Regions from separate parts of the Homo sapiens genome. Here all the other regions are linked to region 2. The links are contacts of gene promoters, found by promoter capture Hi-C in blood cells and fetal thymus (Javierre and others, 2016). All regions are on one chromosome and are shown on one strand. Each heading gives the region's core, a stretch centred on a gene start or on the middle of the fragment in contact. The rest is flanking DNA. Distances are from core to core; before and after follow the strand shown. Region 1 has its middle 19 kb from the start of RPS23. Region 2 holds the start of COX7C (cytochrome c oxidase subunit 7C). Region 3 has its middle 79 kb from the start of RPS23. Region 4 has its middle 3.4 kb from the start of RPS23. Region 5 overlaps ATG10 (autophagy related 10). Region 6 has its middle 9.7 kb from the start of ADGRV1. Region 7 holds the start of LUCAT1 (lung cancer associated transcript 1).

Region 1 (2,977 bases), core at 1-2,500, 4.3 Mb after region 2:
TATGTGAAAAGAATTAAGACTATGCATGTTTTGAAATTGCAACTACAAAAAGGCCATTTTTAACTCAAGGGAAAAAGAAACGTTGCACAAAAAAAAAAAAAAAAAAAAAAAGAAAGAAAGAAACAAAATTACACTCTACTAACTAGCTTGTCTGTGAACAATATACATAGTCATATTGACGCAAGCACTGATGAACTGAAAGTAGTAATGTAACTATATTGGAGGGATGGGGGGTGGAGGAAAGAAAGATGAGGACATTGAAGACAGGAACTTTGTCAATAATAAAGGAACTTGTTATAAAATCTAACATGTATAAATGGAGAAATCACCTATGCATATTATTTTGATATTATGGCAGTATGGTGAATTGTATGATTGTTACCCAGTCTTTGTTTCCTTCTCTGGGAGAGGATTTTGCATCCCCCTAGGGCATATGACTTGCAGTTCCTCCCTGTGGGTGGAAAATACTTCCTGCCCCATCATCAGGCTTAGCTATTATATGAACAGCAGACGAGGAAATACTGGATAGAAGGGGGCAGTTCCTGGCAAAGGCCCCACCCTTAAGCCTGGAAACCCACGGCCCTAAATGGGAACAGGCATTCCTGTTTCTGCACCCCAATGTTGCCTTTTGGCCCACCAGGGCCCCCTATCCAGTACCCATATAAACCCCAAACCCCAGGCTCCACAAGCAGATGAGCAGATGAACAGGTGAACAGAAGAGCAGCAGAACAGCATGACAGAGAAGAGAGACGAGAAGCAGCATCTGAACATCTAGAGGAGTTTGGCTGGGGACAGTCAGAGAGGAGATCAGCTGCTGAACAGCCAAACTCCAGGGGAAGATCATCCCCCAATCCATCACCCTTCCAGCTCCCCATCCAGCCTGCTGAAAGCCACCTCCACCACTCAGTATAACCCCCACATTCACCATCCTTCCAGCCCTGTGTGACCTGATTCTTCCTGGATGCCAAACAAAAACCCGGGGTCCAAGAGGGCACTAAGCTGGTTAACACTTAAGCTGTCTGAAGATGGCAGAGCTAAAAGAGCACTGTAGCACACCCACTGGGGCTTTGAGAGTCACAGGAACCCAAGCCTAGATGCTACCATGAGGCCAGAACCCAAAATCACTTGCCCTGGTTCCTGCACCTGCCCATCTGCATGCTCCCCTTCTTGTAAAAGGTTTGAGCACATGTGGCAGTGGCCAAACAGATGCACCACACCCCTGTTGCATGTCCTGCAAGGGGGGTCACGGAACTCTCCAGTTTCAGCTATACATCTTAATTAGACCAATGGAATATGGGCAGAAGCAACAGTGTGGCAGTTCTGCAGAAGTTGCGAGTGTCTGCATGTGCCTGCCATCTCTTGCCCCACTCCCTCTGTCATAAGAATGGCATGCCCAAATAGGGGCTGCTCTTTCAGTCTGGGACTTGGAATGAGAAGTGGAAACAGAGCTAAAGCAGGGTCACAGCAGCCCGCCTGTAGCTGTCAGAAGTAAGAGGAGCAAGAAAGAAATGTTTGAGGCTGCAAACTTCTGCAATGTAGGGGTTGTTTTGTTTCTAGAAAAAAGGTGACTAATACAAGCAGTGGCCAACAGAAGAAACAACTAAAAATTTGAAAATGTTTGCCTATAGAAGTAACTAGAAGACAATTTTTCCTTTAATGTGTCTTGTCACCTTTTGATTTTTTGAAACCATGTACATGTATTACTTTGATAAATTTTTCTATTTTAATTTTTTAAAAAGATGTCTTCCTTTAGAAATTTATAAATTAGCATTACGGTTTATATTAAGTCTCTTGTGAGTACAAGTTTAATTTCCTGAGCAACAAAAGTGAGGTTCCCATCCAAGTAATAATGAAATTATAATAGAGATATGCTTTAGCCAAATCATCTAACCTACCTAAACTCCAGACTTTGTAGTACAGGTTAAAACGTAACTGAATACAATATATGAAAGAGGCACGAATACCCAGACATTACCCAGGCAGACTTCGGCCTGCCAGCTGTGCTTGCCTTATTTCACCTCTTCCCTTCTCTCTCTGCTTCCGCTACTCTAGCATTATTCAGTTCCTTGAACACTTCATGGTCCATTTTTCCCTTAGCACCTGCTGGTCCCTCCACCTGGAATGTTCTCCATCCTCCTAGTTATTTTCTACATCTCCTCCAGATGATGGCGTAAGTGTCACTTCCTCAGGAACACAATCCCTAACTTGTGCAAGTTCCAATCCCCCTGTTGTATGTGCTCATTGCTTCCTATACTTTTCTTTCACAACACATTTCAAAGTTTATTTGGAATAATATATATCATTTGATTAACAAGGGCTTCCCTATTAGACTTAGTCCGTGAGGCCAGGGACTATCCCTGTTGTGCTCACCATTGTAGACCCAGCATCTAGCATGGGGCCTTGCTACTTAAAAGCACCAATTATTTTTAAAATGTGTTGCATGCACAAATGAACTAAGAAATTGATGAAAATACTCTGAAATCAAAGTGGAAAATGGGAGGTCACACAGGATTTCTTTTTGGATCAAGAATAAACCCAACTTGAGGAAGAAATGTGCAAAGTGAGAATAATGACCCCTACTCACTCTATGTTTAGAAACCGTGTATCGAGCTTAAACTACAATCCTCCTTCCTACAGACAGAATATTGAATAGCCCCAGGGAGTTGAAAGATATTTTAAATTTCAGATCCATTATTTGAAAGAACACACAAAACAACAACTGTTGTTTCCTTCATAATGAATTAATGAGCCATAATATTAGATTCAAATGATCATTGACTTATGTGATTTCTAAGATCTAAAGCTTCTGAAGCTAAAATTAAGCCCATTAACTTTGTCTTAAAAACAGAACTAGGATTTTTCTAATTCTTGGTGTACATTTTACTAGTGTAATACACAAATCAGGCATTTCTGTGTAACCCAGGTGGGGAAACAGAACTAGGCTTTAACCACTAAAGAATAGAAGTCACTATTCAAA
Region 2 (2,871 bases), core at 165-2,664:
TTCTGTTGGAAAAAAAGAGAAAAAGTAATCGAAATTGAATCTCAAATCATCTGCTTAATAATCAAAATACAAGTATACAGGAAATGCTAGTTATATTTTACATCATCAGGTTAACATATGCCATAAATCATAACATCGTTTTAAACATTTATCTTTCAAATCCTATGACCTTCATCACAAAACACTACATGGCAAGAAATAATCTGGCTTTACTAAGCACTAGGCAATGAATGGTCTTGAGGACTCAAACGTCAAATAGTGAGAAGTTTCTTACTTTAGAAAATCGAAAAAACTACTGTCCTAAGTAGTCACCTTAGAAGATACATGGCAATGTTAAGTGCAATACAGCTCTTTTTTTTTCTTTTTTTTTTTTTTTGAGACGGAGTCCCGCTCTGTCCAGGCTGGAGTGCAGTGGCCCGATCTCGGCTCACTGCAACCTCCACCTCCCGGGTTCAAGCGATTCTCCTGCCTCAGCCTCCCGAGTAGCTGGGATTAGAGGCACACACCACCACGTCCGGCTAATTTTTTTGTACTTTTTAGTAGAGACAGGGTTTCGCCATGTTGGCCAGGCTGGTCTGGAACTCCTGACCTCAGGTGATCCGAACGCCTTAGCCTCCCGATTACAGGCGTGCGCCACCGCACCTGGCCCACAGTTTTTTTTGTTTGTTTGTTTTTCATTACCAAGCACCTTCTCTGGCCTTTATGACTAGGCCTCGTGTGACCCTCCGAGATTGTTACTGCTATGTGGTTTAAGTTATTTACACCTGAGGCCAAACCCAGCCTTAACTGAGGTGAAGGGTTAGTACTTCTAACTTAGGCAGCTAGTTTAAAAAGCCTGTTCCATAACCAGAGGCCCTGATTTCCTCATGATTTTCCAATGACCTTCATTTCGGGTCCGATGACCTCCAGCTCGGATTTAACCAACACACCTACAGCCGTGGCCTCCCGGAGCCATCTCAGGGCTTTCTGCGGGGCGGGGGAGGGGGCGTCAGGTGGCTGATGGAGGCAGGGCTTCCGGATCTACCTGCCCATTCCTTTAGCGGCTACGCGCTAGGATGCCCAGCTTCCTCACTGGTCCTTGGGCTAAGTGGAATGCTAGTCTGCGTCTCAGCCTGGTTTCTGGCTATCATCTCCCACGCCACAGCCCGGAGGCGGCCTTGCAGGTGCGCGAGTCACAGCCAAGCGCCCCCTCCCCCAACGAAGCCGTGCCCCTTACACACTAACCTTCCCAGGGCCCTCCTCATAGTGGCTCCTACGGACCACAGAGGTTGTGAACCTCCGGATGCTCTGGCCCAACATACCGCTGCTGGAAGCTCTGCGAAAGGCGCAGAGAATGAGGACAGATGAAATGGCGGCACCTCACCAAGACCTTTTTTTTCACGACCTTGTTCCCCGGTGCGCAAGGACTGAAAAGAAAGATGGGAAATGGGGCGGAGCCTTGAGGAAACGCGACAAAGCGGAAATCGCCCTGGATTGTGGGAATTGTAGTTCAGACCATTGCGGAGCCTTATCAGCCCCCGAAGGATTGTGGGAAATGTAGTTTCGCGCCAGGCTTAGGTCTAGGATTCCTGGGGCCTGTTACCGGAAACGATTTTATTGAATCAAGTGAAGCAGTTTCACCCCGTATACTCTAGTCTGTTGAAAAGGACAATAAACCCATCCCTTTTCTCTTCTTTCTTTCTTTTTTAAAAATAAAGTATATGCTAGGTGTCAATGATTTCGAGGACTTTTGCCAATGCTGAGAGATATGTGCTAATGATCCTAGCTGAAGAAACAAAGCATAAACACAAGTAATCAAACAACGTGCAGCACAAAGGACTTCAGAGAGAAAACTGAAATGCTAAGGGAATGATCACTAAAGATAATGGGAATCGAATAAAAAAGAAGGAAGAACAAAGGGCAGGGAAAACTCAAGTCTGGTATGAGTACAGCATGTGTGAGGAGTAGAAGGGAAAAGTGGCCTCTGACACCTGGAGCTAGCCTGGACTAGGAACTGGTGTCCGCCTGATGAACGTACACAATTTCAGCAAGCATTAGCATCCAACAAGACCACTCTGACAGTGTTCATTAAGAAAAGAATATGATCACTGTGTAATCACATCTGAACACAGATAAAACATTGTCCAAGCCACGAAAATGACCGGACATCACCCTATCTGGTTTAATTTGATGACTTCTGCTTCTTTACCAATTACAATCTTAGCCTTGATCTAGCCTTTCTTCCTCCTAAGATTTGGTAAGGTAGCCAATATTAGGAGAAAAAAATCCCAAATCCAATAAGCATTTTCTAATATTTTACAGAGAACCCTTACTGCAATGAATAATAAACCCCGTTTGTCAATTACATGTGTGCTTCTGGTGGTCTTTGACCAGAAGGTATTGAGAAGAAACCAGTGATAAATGAACCTGGGAAAGTGGTGTTAGGTTAGATTGTGAAAGGCCCTGGTAACCTAAATGTTATGTTATTCATCTGTGGGGGAGTGTATATTGCCTCACGTGTCTCATTTATATAGCATTAGGAAACAATTCCAATAAGACCTAAGGTTTGCTTTGAAAAGGGCATAACATATATGCTCTTTTCGTCTTTTTTTTTTTTTTTTTTTTCAGTTTTTGGAAGAGAACAACCATGCCCCTCCCCCCCAAAAAAACACTTAAAAAAAACACTTAAATTCATATTTTGTTTCAACAAGTAGCTTCTTTTTGAGTAGGGGTTCATGAAATGCATCATAACTGGTGTCCTCTACCACCTAATTTATAGAAGTTATGTGACATTCCATTTTTTTTTAACATTCCGTTCACTGCCTTTACATATTAAAGAATTCTGATTTAACTATAATTGAGAAACTTTTTCACACTTAATATTTCTAGATT
Region 3 (3,036 bases), core at 305-2,804, 4.3 Mb after region 2:
CAAACTGTCCTCAAATGATGAAATATCAGCTATTTCCCAGCATCTTTGGGAGGTGCATATACTATTGCAATGCTGTGTTTGCAAGTTCATTATAATAAAAGTGAAATTCAAAATGAGTACATGTAAAGCAGAAATTCAGAGCCCCTCTAGTTAACACAGTCATTAATTTACCTTTCTTCTTTTTCTTGATTTATGAAACTGCTAGTTGCAAACTGATGTCAATTCAGAGCAGGAGCCAGGGTGGACAATGGATCTCAGCATCTGACTCTTTTGGAGCAGCTGTCTGAACCACAAGGAAAAATAATCAGGCCTGAAGCCAGTGGGAGAATCATCATAACAGACAATACAACCCATTTGTTTAATGAAGAAAGAGTTAGGCAACCTACTAGAAACCACAGGCCTGATCTACATTTTTCAAACTTACGACCATGTCTAGAAAAGTTGCTTAACTCTTCTGTGCTCCATTCTTCCAATGCTCAGAGCTCCATGAGACTCACCTGGAGCTCCCATGTGACTCGATGCCTGCTCCACCTCTCCACACCTGCACAACTATCAAAATAACCAGCAAGGAAAGCTTTATTTAAAAAATGAAGATTCCTTGCCTTCACCCCAGGTCACATCCAGGCCTATGAAATGGGAAATCTGCCTGATGGGGCATTTTAACCAGGAGAATCTAAATGAGCAACCGAATTTAGAAATCACTAGGCGGGAACAGAAAGAGCAAACGCACAATCCAAGAACCACTTCTCCTACCCCTTTGTCCATGACAGACATTAATAATCAACATGAGCACTCTTTCCCTCAGAACGCAGCCAAAGCTCAGGAGGTCCAGGCAGCCACTCCCAGTCAATGAGAGTGGCTGGCTCACAAATTGAAACCTTTCTGCCATCCCTGAGTGAGAACCCAGCAGTCCACCAGTACTGTGTGTTCAGTCGCACATTTCACCCAGCATCTAGAACAGCTCAACGTATAATCCTTTTAGGTTTACAAAATCTTTTCAAACACCTGATCTTCTTTGAGCATCCCAGAAACCTTGTGAAGTTAAAAGGGTATGTATTATTATACCCACTTGACAGATTAAGAAACTGGGGGTCACATTAGTTCTTAATCTTGCCCAGGGTCAGATCGCTGATGAAGAGTAAGGACAGAAAATCCACCCAGATCTCCTGTCTCCTAGACCAGCATTCTTCCTTCTGTAACAAGCTGGGCATGGAGTATTGAGGGCAACATTACCACCTGAGCTTAGCAAAAAACAGACCATACAGCAAACAGTACAGAAGGGGAAGGTGGGCCAAAGAGGTTTAGTAAATTGACCAAGGTCACAAAGCCTTAAAACCAGCAAGCAAGAACCCCAAGCAGGTCTGTCTGATGAATCTCTGTTCTGTGCTCTTCCTGTTTAGATGGTGTGTCCTCCCAGATCAGCACAGACTAGGAAAGGGCCTTTCCTCTCCTCTCCCTGAGTTCACTCTGACACACCCTGCTCGTCTGGCCCTCCTCCCAGACTATTTCCCTTGTTTCCGCTGGTGTCATCCTCTCAGCCACACTCACCTCTCCACCACCCACCCCCCTTTTTGACCCTGCAACTTCCTTCCAAATGCAGGAGGAAACCGCCCAGCTTACTCACAAGGGCCCCAGCCAACAGACTGCAGATAAGACAAGCACCTTGGCAGCGAGACGTGAATATAAAATTGCAAACAGCTTTTGAAGTTACAGATCCGTAATCTTCTAAGCCAAAGAAGAGGGGTTCGCCTCTTCCCCCCGTCATCTGAATCAACACTCCAAAGGACTGAACTGAGTCCAGCCAGCTTCGGATGTGATCTCACAAGCCCGCCTGCCACACATGCATTTCCAGCCTGTCGCCTGAGCAAAACCCCCACGAGGCTTGTCACCACTTAACACAGGGGACATGTTTCTACAGAAATCAAAGCAAAGAGATGTGTTTTGCTGCCCTTTCATGTGGTCAAATACATCCTGACTGACCCGGTTATGCCCTTAGTTGAAGAAACTAAACACTTTCAAGTTTAGAAGGGAAGATGCTCAGGGTTTCTGGAAGACGGGCTGACTCACCTCTACTGCATAGTTGCCTGTAACCTTGGCCAAGTTACTTAATCTTTTTCATCTCAATTTTTCCATCTGTAAAATGGGACTCTACCAATGGCACTTTCCTTTAAGATTCTTGTAATTATTAAAATAGTTGGTTCACATAAAAAATGTAGGGCAATGATACACAGTCAACCATAAATATTTACCATCACTGTCATTTTAAAACAGAAACAAAAGATTTGAGGACGTATCCACATGACCTTTGGAATTTAGATGCATCCCAACAGGTCCCTGTTGTATTTTAGGTTCACAGTAAACAGGTTTTGATGATCAAACCTAAAACTCTGATGTTTCTGTCATTATTATTTTCAATGGAATGATTTGCATAGAATTAACAAAGAATTAACAAAAATTACCAAAATTTCTTTTAGAATTAAGTCAGCATGAGATAACACTGCTTGCTGAGATTATACATACTTCCTTTAAGCTTCTATATAGGATACATTTCTCCAAATTTTCTACAAAAAAGCATGCATTATTTTATCATTGGAAAAATTAAAATAATAGCACATAATAAGATGAAGCACATTATGCCTCGTAATGTATAAACATGGATATCTACAGGAAATGGCAATCAAAGCATAAATGAGTCCACTAAGGTTGCATCATGGCTTTCCCTACTGGCCCAATCGGACATTTTTTTTGGAAAGTTTTAGAGACCTAAGTCTCCACATCCAAATGGAAATGAGCCCCAGATATTACTCATATATTATTGGCAGTACTTTCTGCCCAGAGAATGGCAAAACAAAGAAATTTTTTTGCAAATGGAGGCCACCACCTGGATTTGTGAATGCATGAGCCTCAGCCACACGAGGCCTGTTTAGGGTTGATCTGCCAACTGCACAAAGACACACATACACACACGCACACATGCACAGCCCAAACACTGAGTTTCATTTCCACTGCTTTGTTCCTATGGAGTACTGACAGATA
Region 4 (2,832 bases), core at 136-2,635, 4.3 Mb after region 2:
AACCTCTGCCACCCGGGTTCAAGCGATTCTCCTGCCTCAGCCTCCCGAGTAGCTGGGACTACAGGCAGACGCGACCATGCCCAGCTAATTCTTTTTTTCTTTGTATTTTTAGTAAAGAGATGGGGTTTCACTATGTTGGCCAGGCTGGTCTTGAACTCCTGACCTCAAGTGATCCACCTGCCTCAGTCTCCGAAAGTGCTAGGATTACAGATGTGAGCCACCATGGCTGGTCTATTCCTGTCCTTTGTCATGTTTTCTCACTGTATTATTTGTTCTTTTATATTATTCTGTAGAAGGGATTTTTTTGTTTGTTTCTTTTGAGACAGAGTCTCACTTTGTTGCCCAGGCTGGAGTGCAATGGAGCGATCTCGGCTCACTGCAACCTCTGCCTCCTCAGTTCAAGCGATTTTCCTGCCTCAGCCTCCTGAGTAACTGGGATTACAGGCATGCGCCACCACACCCGGCTAATTTTTGTATTTTCAGTAGAGAGGGGGTTTCACCATGTTGGCCAGGCTGGTCTCGAATTCCTGACCTCACGTGATCCCCCTGCCTCGGCCTCCCAAAGTGCTGGGATTACAGGTGTGAGCCACCACGCCCGGCCAGAAATTTTTTAAAATATTAATCCTTTGTAAGTTTTGTGGCTATGAATAGCAATTCTCAGTATGGAACTTGTCTTTTCACTTTCTTTCAGATGTTTTTGATGAATAGAGGGTCTTAATTTTAATATGATCAAATTTATCATTCTTGTCATGTGTAGAAACATTTTCCTTTCCTAAGTTCAAAAAGATATTCACCTTTGTTCTCTATTAAGAATTTCAAAGTTTTCTTGTTGATATTTAAGCCCTTAATTTATCCAGAGTTGATTTATGCTTTCAGTGTAAGACAGTGACACAATTTCATTGAGTAATCACTTTTTGTGTGGCTCCATCTTTTTTAAATATTATTTTTAAATTATTTATTCTTTAACAAAATCTGTGTATATTTATGGTTTACAACATATTTTAAATATATATGTACATTGTACAATGGTTAAATAGAGCTAACTAACATATGCATTACCTCAAATACTTTTGTATCATTTTTCTGTGGTGAGAACACTTAAAATCTATTCTTTTAGCAATTTTCAATATAAACTTTGTTATTTATACAGTTGACCCTTGAACAACATGGGGGTTAGGGATGCTGACCTCCCCACACAGTAGAAAATCTGTGTATAACTTCCGACTTTCCGAAAACTTAACTACTAATAGCCTACTGTTGACTGGAACTCTTACTGATAACATAAACAGCCTATTAACACATATTTCATGTTACGTGTATTACATACCATATTCTTACAATAAATTAAGCCACAGAAATGAATGTTAATAACAAAATTAGAAAGAAGAGAAAATTTATTTACTACTCATTAAATGGAAATGGATCATCATAAAGGTCATCACATTGAGTAGGCTGAGGAGGAGGAAGAGGAAGAGGAGTTTTTGCTTTCTCGGGGTGTCAGAGGCAGAAGAAAATCTGCCTGTATGTGGACCCACACAATTCAAACCCATATTGTTTGTGGGTCAACTGGAGTCACCATGTTATTCAACAAGTCTCTCGAAAATTTTCTCCTCCTGTCAAACTAAACCTTTGTATCCTTTGACCAACAGCTCCCCAGATCCCCCAAACTCCCACGCCCACCATTCTACTCACTGCTTCTATCCGTTCAAAATTTTTAGATTCCACATATAAGTGTAAACATGCAGTATTTGTGAATCTGAAGAAATACACATAACTCACTGATGTCACTTCATAAACACAGATTTCAAATGGGCTCTCAGAACTGCTCAAAAAACCTATTTTCTTGTCAATGCATTTTCCTACCATTCTAGATTAGGAGGCAGTATAAGAGGGGTCAAATACAAGATTCTAAAACCAGATTACCTGGGTTAAAATCTTACTTCTACCACTTACTAAATACGTGATCTTGGGGAAGTTAAACTCACCAAAGCCTCAGTTTTTGTATATCTATCCCTCAGTAAAATTATCGTTATCTGTCCCTCAGTAAAATTCCTTATGAGAATAAAATGAGTTAATAAATATAAGCCAAAAATAGAATCTGGCACATAGTAAATACTATCTAATGCTTATATTGTTATCATTGATGATGATTTCACATCTTACCTTCTCTCCTCAAACCTTTTTCTCCCACTCTTTCTCTTCACTGATGGCCTTGCTTTTTATTTCATTGAAAAAATTGAAAAAGTAAGTCAAAAGTGAAGAAGTTCCACAACTTCCTATCATCAAATCTTCCAATTTACTTGCAGCTGTACCTGTCACTCTACTACCATACATAAACTGTTATTGTTCCTACAGTTAACTCCTCCACTTGGGTACCCTTCTAGTCTACTTAAGGAGTTGCTCCTGCAATTATCCCTTCTCTGCTGAATAACCCATTTTTAATTTTCTCAACCTGATCAGCATACAAAAATGTCATAAAAGTTGCCATCTTAAAAATAAAACCCTCCAACTCCACATTCCCCTCCAAATAGGGTGCCATTTCTCTGCACATAAAAAATGTCTTTCAAAAATTGTCTATAGTTGCTGTCTAGACTTCCTTCCCTCCCATATTCTCTTCACTCCGATCCCATCGCCTTTCACTTTCAGTACTCCATGGAGTCCCCATTTGACAAAGTGACCAGTAATCTCCACATTTTCAAGTCCAAAAGGCAATTCTCAGTCCTCATCTTATCTCTTTTCACACTTTCTCACTCCCTTCTTCACTTGGCTTTGAACAGAGTGTAACATTGGCCACTCTTTCTTCATCTGTTTTGCTTCACCTGCCTTCTCTTC
Region 5 (2,752 bases), core at 15-2,514, 4.6 Mb after region 2:
AAAGTGGAGTAGCCTTACTTGGATCATTCCAGTAAAAGTCAGTGGTTAGAGGTTAGTTGATGGTTTCTGATTGGTTAAGCTAAAGTTTCATTTTCCTAGAATACAACCATTTACACTGAGTTTGGTGTAAGTCTGTTTATGTAGGAACCCAGGGCACTGGAGCTTCCTCAGGCAATGGCCTCCCAATTAATTATTTTAACACAGGAAGCTGTTTTTGCTGGGCAATAAATATGTTTCCTTCTTTCCTTTGACCACCATGAAGCTTGGAACTTTGTGGCCTACCTTTAATAACTGTACAACAGGCCGGGCGCAGTGGCTCACGCCTGTAATCCCAGCACTTTGGGAGGCCGAGGCGGGCGGATCACGAGGTCAGGAGATCGAGACCATCTTGGCTAACACGGTGAAACCCCGTCTCTACTAAAAATACAAAAAAAAAAAAAAATTAGCCGGGCAAGGTGGCGGGCGCCTGTACTCCCAGCTACTCGGGAGGCTGAGGCAGGAGAATGGCGTGAACTCGGGGGCCGGAGCCTGCAGTGAGCCGAGATCACGCCACTGCACTCCAGCCTGGGCGACAGAGTGAGACTCCATCTCAAAAAAAAAAAAAGATAAAATAAATAAATAAATAAATAACTCTACAACATTCACAGTATATTTTCAGTATAACTCACCCTAATCACATCTTTCTATTCAAGCTTCATATTTTTATGATCTTGATTCTCTTTATTTTGTATGTTATTATATATTATATAGTTTAAGCTACCTCAAATACTTTTGGAACAAAATTGAGTTTAAATTTAAAACTCTAAGCTACAAAAGTACAATAAAAAACAAAAAAGAAAAAGAAAACTAGATAGTAAGATGGGAAGAAAAAAATATTACACTGAGCCCCCAAATCATCCTGAGAGGTCTGAGACACTTTTTTTTTTTGAGAGGGGGGTCTCACTATGTCACCCAGGTTGGAGGGCAGTGATACCATCTCAGCTGACTGCAACCTCCACCTGCCAGGCTCAAGCAATCCTCCCGCCTCAGCCTCTTGAGTAGCTGGGACCACATGTGTGCACCACCATGCACAGCTAATTTTTTGTATTTTTTGTAGAGACAGGGTTTTGCAATGTTGCCAAGGCTGGTCTCAAACTCCTCAGCTCAGGCAATTTGCCTGCCTCAGCCTCCCAAAGTGCTGAATCACAGGCATGAACCACTGTACCCAGCCTTGGTTTAAGAGACTTTCAAAAAGAAGTATAATACAGTCTTTGCCTTCAATAGTTTGTAACCAAATATTTTTTTATTTTTCAGAATACACATTCTTCTCAAAGTAATCAAATTTTTAAGTAAAGATTCACATTGAAAAGAACATCAGAGAATAATGGATAACAAAAAACAGTGATAAATTGTACAACCACTGTTTAAAGAATTAGTATGGATTAAAATAATTAAAATTGCATATATTACTATGTATTAAGAACTAGTAACAAATCCTCAGAGCAACTTTTTGAGGTAAATTACTAGGATTTTCTTTATTTTATAGATAAGGAAATTGAGACAGAGAGGGTAACTTGTCCAAGGTAACACAGCTGTTAAGTGTAGTAATTTGACCTAAGGAAGTCTGGAACCAGAGCCTGGGCCCTACAGTAGTTAGATTTCAGTTAATCCTTGAATTATAGGAGGATATAGAAAGAAAGAAATAGAAGGGATGGGGCAGTGGCAGTGAACCTTGGAACAGATTGAAATGAGGTAGACCAGTAAAGAACCTGAATGGAGAGTATAGATTGAGGGATATTGAGAATCTGGGGACAGGGTGCAGGAAGTTTACAGTCTTAAAACTCAAAGGAAGCTTGGAGACATAGCTCTCGCCTTTAGTCCTCACTACTCAGGAGGCTGAGGCAGGAGGGCTGCTTGAGCCAGGAGTCACGGCTGTGTAGTGCCTTCTAATTGTGCCTCTAAATAGCCACTGCACTCCAGCCTGGGCAACTTAGAGACCCCACTTCTTAAAAAACCAAAAGAAGAAACCAAAAAACCCAAAGGAGATTCCATTTAAAACAATTGGCAATAGGAAACCAGTGTAGGTTCTTGAGCTCAGAAGAGATGATAAAAAGGTTTTCTCAGAAAGATGTTACATGACAGTGATATGAAATAACCCTAGCTTCAAAGCTACACTCCTATTACTAAGCCCTCTTCCTGGATCCTATAAAACTATGTGATCAGGTAAGCACATTAGAGAAGTCTTGTCTCTGCAGTTTTCAGCAACCATTCCCTAATTAAGATTCCTTCAGGTACAGCTTATTCTCCTATTCTCCATTCCCCAACTTTCTAATTGCTTTATTATACTCAGGCTGCTTGTCCCCTGAAAACATTTGTTTTCAATAGATAATCACCAAATGATCTCCATGGCTTTTTTTTTCTTAAGGTTCCCTGATTATATTTATGATTCAAACACAACCTCCTGGGTCCCAAACACATCTCTAGGTTTCAAAGATAATCAAATCAAGCCCATCTTAAGAAATCTTCTGTAAGCTTTACTCTCCTTGTTTTTCCTAAAGGGCTGCTTTACCTTTCTCAGAAATGTATTAGGCATCAGGAACTACTGTCGACATGTAGTTTGTCACAAAACATTATACATAACTTGAATGGCCCACCATGTACCAAAATCTCAGTTAACCTTATCCTAAATAAAACAGGAGACAAGGGAAATAATCTTTTAACACTCCACATTCAAATGTATGCAATTTAGAACTACTATTTCCACTAATTTCTT
Region 6 (2,754 bases), core at 45-2,544, 3.9 Mb before region 2:
GAAGTGAGTCATGACAGCACCACTGCCCTCCAGCCTGGGCAACAGAGCGAGATCCCATCTCCTCCCCACTCCCTGACCACCACTAAAAAAAAAAGAAAGAAAGAAAAGAAAAGCTGGGGAAGATTTTGGAAAATTGAGAGGAGTAAGTCCTTCTGGAAGGTATAAAGCAGAAGAGCAGAAAGATTTCAAGAGCTCAAAAATAGCTCCAGGGAGACATGACACCACACTTTCCCAGAAAGGAGTTAAGGTGTGAGCAGCATCTCAAGCCTTGGTTGGTTCTATTTGGACAAGGTAGGCCCACTGAAAGCTGCTTCTCAAAAAGCTTCATGGAGTGACCCAGAGGGAAGAATCTGAAGTGCGTCTAGGAGTCTGGTCTCCACATTTTCCTGTCTTGCCAAGGCCTTTGGATCTTATCTAGACTATGTGTGGGTTATCTAGTGGTGACAAATTTATCATAATTTATTATGACTATTTTGAAATCTTTAATGTGATGTGACAAAATCTTCTCTGTAAATGATTTCTTCCCTATATAGATGAAGTATACAAAAAGTAGTTCCTCTTTAAGACTGAGATGTTTGATAAGCCAGCAGTCAACCCAGATCCTCACAGACAACAGAAGTTGAGGTGCCATTTTAGAAGCTGAAACCACAAGCGTGATAACAAACAAACCCAACAAAAAAGGCTTTTCTCTTTGCTTCTTCATGTGAAATTAATACTTCACTTTTTTTGTACTTGTTTATCTTTCTCTTTTCTAAATTTTTTTTTATTTTTATACTTTAAGTTTTAGGGTACATGTGCACAATGTGCAGGTTTGTTACATATGTATACATGTGCCATGTTGGTGCACTGCACCCATTAACTCTTCATTTAACATTAGGTATATCTCCTAATGCTATCTAAATTTTTATACTCTCATGAAATGTTCTAAAATTAATAAGTAAAATACAAATGATAAATTAAGTATTATCTTCATGTTCTACTGCAAATATTTTAAATCTTTACCTTCCTAAGTTAAAAATGTTTTTTTCAAGAAGTCTATTTATAGAACATGATGTCTGAGACTTTGTGATATCAGTCACTAGTATGGTTTCTATTTCTAAAGCCATAGAATAGCAAAAATAAAAACATTTAATATGGTTAGGTCCAGATGATGTCAAGAGATCATATAGTGTAGATAGGTGGAGTGAACTTAGATTAATTTATTAACCTTTCACATTTTAGTTTCCTTATCTGCAAAATAGAGAGTCTCCTAGGACTCATTGCTCAGGCTTGTGTGTGGATTGAATGAGATAGTGAAGTCTGCTACATAGTGAGATTTTAATAACTGACAAACAGAAAAACAGCAAAATAAAACAAAACAGTTATTGCCTACTCTAGTTGTATTTTAGCTGCAATTGAGACAGTTTTTCTTCTCAGTTAACCAATTCAATATTGAAAAAACTACAGTGTTAATTATACATAAATAAAGTTAACAAATACATAATCGCATATATAATAGCAATTTCCCACTAAAAGTTTTAAAATAACATCTTTTCATTGATGTGAATTGCTCCTGCTTTTAATATATCTTGATATACTTTATACTAATAAAGAAAAGAACACATATGTAATTCCTAAGTAGCTCCATCAAATGAATATTAAGATCAAGTAATATCCAAGTATACATATTACTTTCCGACATTTATTTCCTTACAAATCTAAATATATGCAGCAGTAATAGTATGTGATTACACATATTGTATTTTTTTTTTACTGGCCACATGTAATACTTTATTACATTATTCAGTAAAAGACGAATTGAGTAGAATTTATGTCCTATGGGAAATATTTTAAATCTGTATTTCCAAGCTAAAAATATTTTATCCTACAAAGTATGTTTACAAAACATTTACAGAGAATGCTGTCTGAGACTTTAAAATCAATAATAGTTTCTATTTCTTAGCAAGAAGCACATCTCAGAGCAGTTTTTCTCACATTTTAAAAGGAATTCCTCCATAAATCAAACATAAATGTATATCCAGTTTTTAACTTTTTGAGAACAGCTAATTAAATCTGTTTTTCACCCCCAGTTGCCTCTGGTTTAGGCACGCTGTGTGTGGCACTTCCCATGGTTTGTCATTTTGCTTTAATGGCAGGGGGAGGAAGCCAGCCAGGCTCAGTAAGCACGCTGCATATCAAAATGTCGCCATGGCAGCGTTTGTCCACTTGTCAGAGTCCTTCTGAAATGACTCAGCCATTCATTTTGTTGAATCAATATTGAAGCTTTTGAGATTTATTACTTGAGGTTTGGGAGGAGACAAGGCAAACAAATCCTTCATTCCTAACTTCGAGTTCCAGTTGAGCCAAGATTATTATTTCTGTCTACACTTTATTTATGAGGATAGAATATAAGGTTTCCACTCCTTGCATAATTATCTTATAATAAGCTTGCATTTACATTCCAGAGACTACAGTAAAAAAGAATTTAAATTTTCCAGAAATATTCTGTGGGCTGTGGTAAACTTATCCAACGATGAGTTCAAACAGTTAATTTCCTGGGAGGTATGTGAGGGGGGGATGGAGATGAGGGGACGGTATAAATCTTTTGGTACAAAATCTTTAAATCTATGATATAAAACATATTAAATTCCACTTCTATATATAACGTATCTTGAAACAGAAGTAACAAGAAGCATGTTATCTACCAAACCTTTCTATTTATTAATAATCACTTCCATGCATTAATGCCTTCACCATTCAACAAATTTAAAATTA
Region 7 (2,885 bases), core at 23-2,522, 4.7 Mb before region 2:
CAGGATATTGAATTTCGACTTTATCCTGAAGACAATAGGGAGTCTTTGATATGGAGACAGACTAGAAATGTAAAATCAGTCTCTACATTTCAGAAACAAGGCTGAGTGCCGTGGCTCATGCCTAGAATCCCAGCACTTTGGAAGGCCGAGGCGAGCGGATCACTTGAGGTCAGCAGTTTGAGATCAGCCTGGCCAACATGGCGAAACTTCGTTTCTACTAAAAATACAAATAGCCAGGTGTGGTGGCAGGCGTCTGTAATCCCCGGTACTCAGGAAGCTGAAGCAAGAGAATTGCTTGAACCCAGGAGGCAGAGGTTGCACTGAGCCAAGATCACACCATTGCACTCCAGCCTGGGCAACAGAGTGAGACTCAGTCTCAGTAACAAAATCTAGGCTGGGCGTGGTAGCTCACGCCTGTAATCCCAGCACTTTGGGAGGCTGAGGTGGGCGGATCACCTAAGGTCAGGAGTTCCGGAGCAGCCTGGGCAACATGGTGAAACCCCGTCTCTACTAAAAATGCAAAAATTAGCTGGGTGTGGTGGCATGCGCCTGTAGTCCCAGCTACCAGGGGAGGCTGAGGCAGGAGCATCACTTGAACCCGGGAGGTGGAGGTTGCGGTGAGCCAAGATCACACCACTGTACTCCAGCCTGGCTACAGAGTGAGACTCCATCTCAAAAAAGAAAAAAAAAAAAGAAAATCTATTGACAAGATTGACAAGAGTTCATTTTAAAGATGATTCTCTACACTTGGAGCATGGGATCTTGCCTGTCAGCAATTTTCAGCCGTCTCCAGATTAGTAACTGTGACTTGCCACCCTGGTTGATGGGCTGGCAGGAAGGAGTGTGTCATATCAGAGATTGCCACAGACACCCAGGGCAATGTGATTTGTCACTTAAAGAGGACGGCAGATCAAGAGCATCTCATCCTCCGGCTGCTGAGTCATCCTGCTCTGGCAGTTATTTAAACAGAAGGCTCCAGGAGACATACAATCAACACTCCACTCAGACAATGCCCAGACCTCCAGAAACCATGTGTCAAGCTCGGATTGCCTTAGACAGGTGCAATTTAAGAACAGCTTTCATCCTCTTTTCTCTCATATTGTCACACTATGTGTTCTGACTTCTGGCTCCTTTCCTCACAAGAAGCTCACCCAGCTGGAACTCTTATGGGACCTTGGCACCAGAGACCACAAATTCCTCTTTGAAGTTTTCTAACAGCAACAATGGTATTTCTGACTTGGCTTTCTTGTATTTCTCTCACGTTAACAAAATTGGTTCAGCATCTACCATGGGCTACATGCTGAGCTACAGGTAAGGTTTGGCTAAAGGATGAATAAGAACCCCTCCTTGTCTTCAGGAGTTTGTCTAGCAGAGGAGTCTGTCATGTAATCAGGAAACTCCAGTACACAACGTGATAGCTCTAAGACAGGTATATACAAGATGATGTTCTGGACCTTAACTGTTTGGGGAGTACTACTGCCTTTGTCTAAAAGCCATCACCCTTTTTATATGCCATTTGGGAGGAACTGGGGGGACGTGGGAGGCTTCAAAGGGTTATGGGAGGATGGACATTTTAAAAGGGCTTTTCTTTTCTTTTTTTTTTTTTGAGACAGAGTTTCGCTCTGTCGCCCAGGCTGGAGTGCAGTGGCGCGCGATCTCGGTTCACTGCAAGCTCCACCTCCCGGGTTCACGCCATTCTCCTGCCTCAGCCTCCTGAGTAGCTGGGACTACAGGCGCCCGCCACCACACCCAGGTAATTTTTTGCATTTTTAGTAGAGACGGGGTTTCACCGTGTTAGCCAGGATGGTCTCGTTCTCCTGACCTCATGATTCACCCGCCTTGGCCTTCCAAAATGCTGGGATTACAGGCGTGAGCCACTGTGCCCTGCCAAAGGCCTTTTCAAATCTAACGATGTACTCACATTTCCACCTGTCTGCCAGCCCTTGTCCAGTTTGACCTGGGCACTCACTGCTGCTCTGGTGGTGAGTACTGCTGATGGTTCTTTTCCCTGCCCATCCTTGAGGTGCTCGCTTCAATATGTCAAATGAGGACTCTCATTACATTTGGCTGTCATACATCAGCCACAACTGTCCTGCCCAGAAGAGCTGGCCTTGGCTTTAAAGCCTACATCCTGGCTGACCTTCTTTACTGCTTTATTAAGGAATCCAACTTGCTGTTTGCTATCACATGTGCTATACATGCTGTTGATGAAACTGCTAAAGGGGCTGAATGTGACTGACGTCTTTGGAAGGATGAGACTTAGCGTGCCTGTACAGTTGTGTCCAAATGCTGTCCTCATCTCCCAATGAAAAGGTATTGTAAATAAAGAGAAAGATCAGAGGCTTATTTTAAACACTAAATATGAGCTAGGAGCTGTCCTAGACACTATGTAAAAGTTTTATTTAGTTCTCACTGTAATGTTGGCCTTATGTTAGCATCCCATTTTTCAGACTGAGGAAATTATGGCTCAGAGAGGTTAAGAGACTTATTGAAGGTCACACAGCTCCACAAACTTTGGTGTAGATTGAACGTGTACATGGGTCTATGTGACTTTGAATCTTGCATTCTTTACATTATTGGAATATTTCACAGAAGGAAAATGACATATTAACATGGCAATAAGATTTCTGGTTCCAGTCTGGTTACTGGTCTTCCAAGAGTGTTATAGGATGTATAGCCTGAGCTCTGAAGCTTTGTTCTGAAGCATGCTATCAATATGAACAAATTGGTATGGAAGGAAGCCACAAATTATATACTAAAATCTAGTTCATCAGAGGAAAATATAGTTAAATACATTTACATTCCCAGAACTGTTAATATTGAAGAATAAAACACACAGTGGGAAAGAGACGAAGAGAAAATACGCCTGTTTTTATGACTTGTTG

The links. The method cuts DNA at HindIII sites, captures the fragments that hold promoters and counts their contacts. A CHiCAGO score of 5 or more calls a contact.
Region 1: a fragment that was not itself captured here is called in contact with the fragment with the promoter of COX7C in region 2 in 1 of 17 cell types (non-activated CD4 T cells); the score reaches 5.3 in non-activated CD4 T cells.
Region 3: a fragment that was not itself captured here is called in contact with the fragment with the promoter of COX7C in region 2 in 5 of 17 cell types (total CD4 T cells, naive CD8 T cells, total CD8 T cells and 2 more); the score reaches 11.2 in total CD4 T cells.
Region 4: a contact is called between a fragment that was not itself captured here and the fragment with the promoter of COX7C in region 2, in 9 of 17 cell types (non-activated CD4 T cells, total CD4 T cells, activated CD4 T cells and 6 more). The highest score is 18.5, in non-activated CD4 T cells.
Region 5: a contact is called between a fragment that was not itself captured here and the fragment with the promoter of COX7C in region 2, in 1 of 17 cell types (non-activated CD4 T cells). The highest score is 6.3, in non-activated CD4 T cells.
Region 6: a contact is called between a fragment that was not itself captured here and the fragment with the promoter of COX7C in region 2, in 1 of 17 cell types (total B cells). The highest score is 7.8, in total B cells.
Region 7: a fragment that was not itself captured here is called in contact with the fragment with the promoter of COX7C in region 2 in 1 of 17 cell types (total CD4 T cells); the score reaches 7.1 in total CD4 T cells.

Annotation. Positions count from the first base shown.
Region 1 is chr5:82,296,330-82,299,306 of GRCh38, reverse strand. It overlaps the pseudogene ATP6AP1L. Among named protein-coding and RNA genes, the nearest start is that of RPS23, 19 kb to the right of the region's middle. The HindIII fragment of the contact is 3,110 bases long and covers 1-2,805 here.
Region 2 is chr5:86,616,484-86,619,354 of GRCh38, reverse strand. COX7C (cytochrome c oxidase subunit 7C) reads right to left here and starts at 1,414. Exons shown (of 3, transcript NM_001867.3): 1 at 1,225-1,414; 2 at 1-2. The coding sequence starts at 1,299. RefSeq lists enhancers at 324-989, 1,287-1,376, 1,309-1,603, 990-1,655, 1,667-1,746. The HindIII fragment of the contact is 5,230 bases long and covers 1-2,871 here.
Region 3 is chr5:82,355,985-82,359,020 of GRCh38, reverse strand. No RefSeq gene overlaps it. Among named protein-coding and RNA genes, the nearest start is that of RPS23, 79 kb to the right of the region's middle. RefSeq lists an enhancer at 1,235-2,434. The HindIII fragment of the contact is 1,956 bases long and covers 577-2,532 here.
Region 4 is chr5:82,280,343-82,283,174 of GRCh38, reverse strand. It overlaps the pseudogene ATP6AP1L. Among named protein-coding and RNA genes, the nearest start is that of RPS23, 3.4 kb to the right of the region's middle. The HindIII fragment of the contact is 5,869 bases long and covers 1-2,832 here.
Region 5 is chr5:81,973,858-81,976,609 of GRCh38, reverse strand. All of the region lies in intron 1 of ATG10 (autophagy related 10), which reads right to left. Among named protein-coding and RNA genes, the nearest start is that of ATG10, 3.2 kb to the right of the region's middle. The HindIII fragment of the contact is 1,139 bases long and covers 695-1,833 here.
Region 6 is chr5:90,547,769-90,550,522 of GRCh38, reverse strand. No RefSeq gene overlaps it. Among named protein-coding and RNA genes, the nearest start is that of ADGRV1, 9.7 kb to the left of the region's middle. The HindIII fragment of the contact is 1,940 bases long and covers 325-2,264 here.
Region 7 is chr5:91,312,506-91,315,390 of GRCh38, reverse strand. LUCAT1 (lung cancer associated transcript 1) reads left to right here and starts at 989. Exons shown (of 5, transcript NR_103548.1): 1 at 989-1,311; 2 at 1,614-1,753; 3 at 2,162-2,313. RefSeq lists enhancers at 690-1,477, 365-1,564. The HindIII fragment of the contact is 2,842 bases long and covers 1-2,693 here.